Regions from separate parts of the Homo sapiens genome. Here region 1 is linked to region 2. Evidence: promoter capture Hi-C in 16 types of primary human blood cells and fetal thymus (Javierre and others, 2016). All regions are on one chromosome and are shown on one strand. Each heading gives the region's core, a stretch centred on a gene start or on the middle of the fragment in contact. The rest is flanking DNA. Distances are from core to core; before and after follow the strand shown. Region 1 overlaps LOC101927840 (a long non-coding RNA gene). Region 2 holds the start of WDR12 (WD repeat domain 12).

The links. Contacts are between HindIII fragments. The CHiCAGO score rates a contact against its expected background, and 5 or more counts as called.
Region 1: a contact is called between a fragment that was not itself captured here and the fragment with the promoter of WDR12 in region 2, in 1 of 17 cell types (fetal thymus). The highest score is 6.1, in fetal thymus.

What each region holds. Positions count from the first base shown.
Region 1 is chr2:203,933,050-203,936,003 of GRCh38, reverse strand. All of the region lies in intron 3 of LOC101927840 (a long non-coding RNA gene), which reads left to right. Among named protein-coding and RNA genes, the nearest start is that of ICOS, 2.2 kb to the left of the region's middle. The HindIII fragment of the contact is 1,448 bases long and covers 618-2,065 here.
Region 2 is chr2:202,910,251-202,912,950 of GRCh38, reverse strand. WDR12 (WD repeat domain 12) reads left to right here and starts at 1,278. Exons shown (of 13, transcript NM_018256.4): 1 at 1,278-1,515. The coding sequence starts at 1,475. CARF (calcium responsive transcription factor) reads right to left here and starts at 676. Exons shown (of 17, transcript NM_024744.17): 1 at 1-676. RefSeq lists enhancers at 396-445, 546-745, 786-935, 946-1,095. The HindIII fragment of the contact is 1,677 bases long and covers 362-2,038 here.

The DNA of each region.
Region 1 (2,954 bases), core at 92-2,591, 1.0 Mb before region 2:
AAAAAATTAAATGTAATATATTTTATATATAAAATATACCTATTTTTATATATGAATATAGCTAATATTACATTTATATTATGTTTTATATGCATGTAAATGGTTACTGTTTGTATATATATTTACATTATAACTATAGTTTATACATACATTAACTCATTTAATCTTCTTAATCATCCCAATGGTGACCACTAATCTCCCATTTTACAGATGAGGAAAACTGAGGCACAGACAGGTAACGAACCTGGCCCAAGTCATATAGTAAGTGTCAGTGCTATGATTTAGAGAGTCTGGCTCCAGAGTCCTCACTCTTAACCGAAGCAGGTAGAACCACCAATACCAAGGCCTGCTGATCCCTCCATCCAGAAGTCTGAACGCGCTTCCAAGATGCTAGATCCAGGCTGGACTTCCCTTAGCCTGCAGAAATGACATTTAGATGAGAAGCTGAAATCAGCTGGCCAGGGAAACCAAGGTGTGAGTCCAAAAGGTCCAGGCTCTGAAACAGATTCCAGGTTTGGGGCTTTAGGCCAGCCACTAGGAATGCCAGACCACAGCCAAGGGGTCTGCAAGGTAAGGAGGAGGCTGATCCTGCAGGGATCCCCCTAGCTGCTGAAGCTTCCCCTAGCTACCTTCTGTAGGGCTCCTGGGTCTCAGCAGTGGGTGTGAAGGAAGCTGTTTGAGGGACTGAGCTAGCCTGAGAAGTAGAGCCTGGGCTGCCAGGACCCCTGGGACCTTGCTACCCCAATCTCCTCCCTTTTCACTGTACTCCCCGTAGCATCATGAGGAAAGGCTTCCAGCCCCACCGGCACTGTGCTAGAGTCCTTTCCCAGCACACAGGCAGGCAGTGGAGAACAATTGACTTCTTCCAACCTAGGTGAGGCCTAGCTCTGGAACTGAGTATGGGGAACTTTAACTTCACTTGAGAAAAGCTGTCATAAGTTCTAGAGCTCAGGGCTGTTGCACAGAGAAAAATACAAAGCAGAAACCTAATAATAAATATGCAATGAGGACATAGTGTGTGCCAGACACGGGGCTCCACGTGCATTGTCTGATCCCGTTCTCAAACAACTCAGCGAGGGAGAGTCTGTTACTTATTCTCATTTCATAGATGAGAAAACTGAGAGTTAGAGAGATTCAGTCATTTGCCCGGAGTCACAGAGCTGATGAGCAACGGAGCCTGTTCAAATCCAGACAGTGAAACTCTGGATTCCAAACTCTTAACTACCCCACCACACTCACACACTTATCCTCATTTATTTGGCTAGAAATTACTGGAAGCATTACTTTTTTTGGTCTCCTATTTTCATGGTGGAAGGATACTTAGGTCCTAGAGGAAATTCCAAGATAATTTGAATGCAAAAAAAGATGTCCTGGTCAATTGGAGGTGTAATGTTTCTACCTCAAGGGGAGAAAAGTTGCACAAGTTATGGTTAAATTCAGCTTTAGTTCAACTGGATATGTGTGGTTTTGTTTGATATGTATCTCTTTGCTTTTTCCCAACCCTCTCGCTTCTCAGTTTGTCAGACACTGGGTGGTAAATTGATCCGATAGTGGAGAAGAGCTCACTTCTATGTAAACAATGTTTTATGTCAAAGTCCTGTTTCAATGATCCTTCCCATGCCTCGCCTTCTCAAAAATCTTGGTCAAGAATACAAGTACTTGTGGTTTAAAATATTCAGAACTGCTTTCACGTGCCTGGAAAATTAACTGGGCAAAAATTTCCATTCACCTCACAGGAAGTGCTTTTAGTTTGCTTTTAATTTTTTTTCATTCCATGACTTAAGATGGTTTTGATTTGTGTATGCAGACGCCTGGGGTGAGGGTGGGGCATGGAAAGTTGGTTACATTAAAAGTGTTTTTTATTTCTTGCCTCCTGGGCACCAGAGTTCATCATGCAGCATGCTTGCTTTTCTGAAGGGCCGTAGGTGAATGTCTTTCTTTTGCTTTGCTTGCAACTTACTGAAAGCAACATTTGTCTGAGTAGAGGAGCTCAGACACCAGCATGGTTGAGTCCAAGCAATAGGGTTAGAAAGTAACCCCCAAATATCTAGGCTTCACCTAAGCTTGGTTTGCCATTCTGAAAGGGACAAGCATCAAAAGTGAGAGGTCCTTCCTAATCACAATTGCTTCAACTCCTACCTTGCCTATACTGTTGAGTGGTACCACCAACCAGCCTTCTCCCTTTTCCTGCTGATTCACCGATAAACCCCAATTACTCTACTTCCTAACTGTCTCTCAAGTATTTTTTCCTCCTCGCTTGCCAAGGTCACTGACTTAGATCAGGCCTCTGTCATTTCTATTCCCACCCTTGTCCCATTTTGGTCTGTCTTCATGCTACAACCAGAGTAATCTTTGTAAAATGTAAATAGAATTCATCTGTGTCCCCGCCCCACCCAGGATCCTCCACTGGCTTCCTCTCTTAGGTAAGGCCCACACCCCTTCAAGATTCCTTATGAAGGGCAACTCCTTCCCCAGTTCGGCCTCATCTCTTGCCACATTTGTTCTTTCTTCCTTCTGTACCAAATGTTTCCATCACGTTGAATGACATGAAGTTCTCCAAATTCCCCAAACTAACTCTTCCTTCTACTGCCAGGAGCCATCATTTTGTCTGTGCTTCCCCTCCTCACCACTCTAGCCTACCTTCTTTGGCAGATATTCCACCATTCTTCAGGCCTTTGCTTCCATACCCATCGATTCATCAAAGACATCAAACCAATGTCATTCACTCCCAACCACCCCCATAACTAGTGTCCATTTAGTGGCTTTTCTGCAACCTCCCAATGCTCCTCTGTGTCCCCCATCCTAGAAATCATTATGTTATCGGTGGAAGGTATCTTAGTTACCAGCAGAAAATCTGTACAGGTCTGCAGCAACCTCATTTCTTGCCTCTTCAGAACAAAGAATTTGACTGAGAAGCATAAGGCAGAAATACAGACCGAGGCAAGTTTCAGAGC
Region 2 (2,700 bases), core at 29-2,528:
ACCATTGAGAACAATACACAGGCCTTTGGGTAACTTCAAGACAAAAAAGGCAAAAAGTCGGGGAGAAGGTGTGGGAGGATGATTTTCCCCTTCTAAACGTAAGGTATAAAAGGGCTCAGAAAGCGGAAAAAGAACCCTAAAAAGCAAGGTGCGGGACGGCGTGAGGGACCACACATTGGGCGCTCCGCCCAAGGGGTCCGGCTCCTTCTCCGCGGCGATGGCGCGTCCTTGGGCTCAGCAACCCTCCTGAAGACACCTAACCTCCTCCTTCTCCAGCCTGCCCCTCTGGGGCCTGCGAGCCCCGTCCCGGGCCGGGGGTCGGAAGCCGTGCCATGTGGGACCCCGAAAAGGCCCCCAAGCTTGGCGCGGAAGGCGCCGCCAGTGACCGGCTGCGGCTGGGGGCGGAGGCCGGCAGTTGCTCGGAGCTCCGGCGGGTCAGGAGGTGACGGGAGGAGGAGGAGGCAGGAGGAAGACGGGGGGTTGGGAGGTAGCGTCCGGTAGGTCTGCGCAGACAGCGCTGCCAGACCTCTGACTCCCCCAGTCCTGCCGCCGCCGATAGCCCCACAAGGCGACATGGGAAGTCCGCCGGAGCAGAGGGGAGAAAATTCAAAACGAGTCTACTCAACCTCGTCTTGGCTCCGAGGCCCCGCCATGGAGACCAGCATAATGCGCAGGCGCGCCCCACCGGGAGCGCGCAGAGCAGTCCCACGACAGTAGGACCACTATCGGCCACCGTCGACCGTTTCCTCTCTCATCCGTTCTTTTCTTTGTATTTCCGCCTCTCGCCTCTCTCTAAAAGCCGCAGTTAGAGGCGAGATTTAGGAAAAACCTCTGCCGAGTGAGCCTCTGGTTGGGAATATGTATGAGAAAAAAAAACTGGCAAGGCGTTAGTCAAGCAAAGCTGAAGGCAGAGGAAATTTGATATCTGGCTGGAGTCTAGAGGATTTAATGCAAATAAGATACTCTGAGGGCAGCGTGGCAAAAAAAGACTACAATTCCCGGTGGTCACAGCGTTTGAGAAGCGATGCTTTCTGAGACTTGTAGTAACTAGGAGCTGTGTTTGAACTATCCAGGCTCAGGACAGCCTCTTGAAAAAAAATTTTTTATTAATAAAGCGGATTTGAGTGGGATCTTTTTCCTAATCGATTACGGGCCCACACGTATGGGAAGAATTCTAACAATGATTAAAGGGACATGCTACCTTTACGACTATCCTTTTCTAATCGATGACTCCTAAATCTAGGAGTAGGTAGTCGATGTTTGTGGTCTGGGCGTCTGTAGAAGGGCAACCTCGTGCTTTCTGCAGAGGAGACCGGAGGGCAGAAGGCAGAGTCCAGGCTTAGACTGCAGTTCCTCGCTTACCTGTGCAGTCTAATTTTGAGCTGCCTCTTTGTAGTCTTAAAAGGCAGGAGCTTCGTGTTGTGGGTCTGCTAACCCGTACGTTTCCGTGGGCAAGTCGTGTGTACTCCTCGCCATGGCTCAGCTCCAAACACGCTTCTACACTGATAACAAGAAGTAAGTAAGCGTTCCAGCCTTCTCTCCCTTCCCCAGGTTCCTTTCCGACCACCCCTTTGGTATGACCTTGTGGATCCCTGGTTGTTTCTGCTGTCACCCCCACCCTTTTTTCTGAGATTACCTGCTTTCTAACCAGCTTCGTAGGTTCTATATAATTTGAATTGTGAGTGTGGAGGAGGCTGAAGGGCTTCAGGTTTGCTTTCTGAATGAAACATTTTATATGTGTAATTTAAAAATGAACAGTGGGCCTTGTTATAGGGTGTCTGCTAGTGGTGGTTCACAGTTTTTGAAAACGGAAAAAAAGTTTTTGAAAATGAAAAAACATATTTACCATTTATGTATATCTATATAGATATATAAACATTTTAACCAGTGGTCTCAAGGTCTGTTAGCACTCATTCGAAAACTAATTATATGCTGCCTTGTGGTATATATTGCATTGTTAGCTTTCTTTGTGTTTGCCTGGTCTCTTCCAACTATATTGGAAGTCTCTTGAGGGCAGGGACTATATATTAATTAAGCTTCTTGGATTGGCTGAGTCAACAAAAAATGTCAAATTTTTCAGTGAAAATGATAATATTTGTCGTGTTAATAAGCTAAAGTTAGCCATAAACTAGGAAACTCCCACCTGAGTTACATCTGTGGTTTTGTTTGTAGCTTTATGAGGAGAGCTAGTAAATCATCTTCTCTCCCCTTGTGTTGTTGCTGAAAGTATACATAAATCGTATTATCAATGCACCTGAGTATATGTACTTACTTACATACATTGCCTTAATACTTCTCTAGGAATGTGGTGATGCATTAACATAACCACTGTGTTTTTTAATTGAAAGTAGGTTTTTTTGTTTTTCTTAAAATAAAATTTTTTGAAATATGTGGGGCTTTTTTTTGTTTGTTTGGTTTGGTTTTTTTGGAGACAGAGTCTCACTCTGTTGCCCAGGCTGGACTGCAGTGGTGGGATCTTGGCTCACTGTAACCTCTGTCTCCCGGGTTCAAACAATCTTCCCGCCTCAGCCTCCAGAGTAGCTGGAATTACAGGCATGTGCCACCAAGCCTGGCTAATTTTTGTATTTTTAGTAGAGACAGGAATTTGTCTTGGTGGCCATGCTGGTCTCGAACTCCTGGCCTCAAGTGATCCGCCCACCTCGGTCTCCCAAAGTCCTGGAATTACAGGCATGACCCACT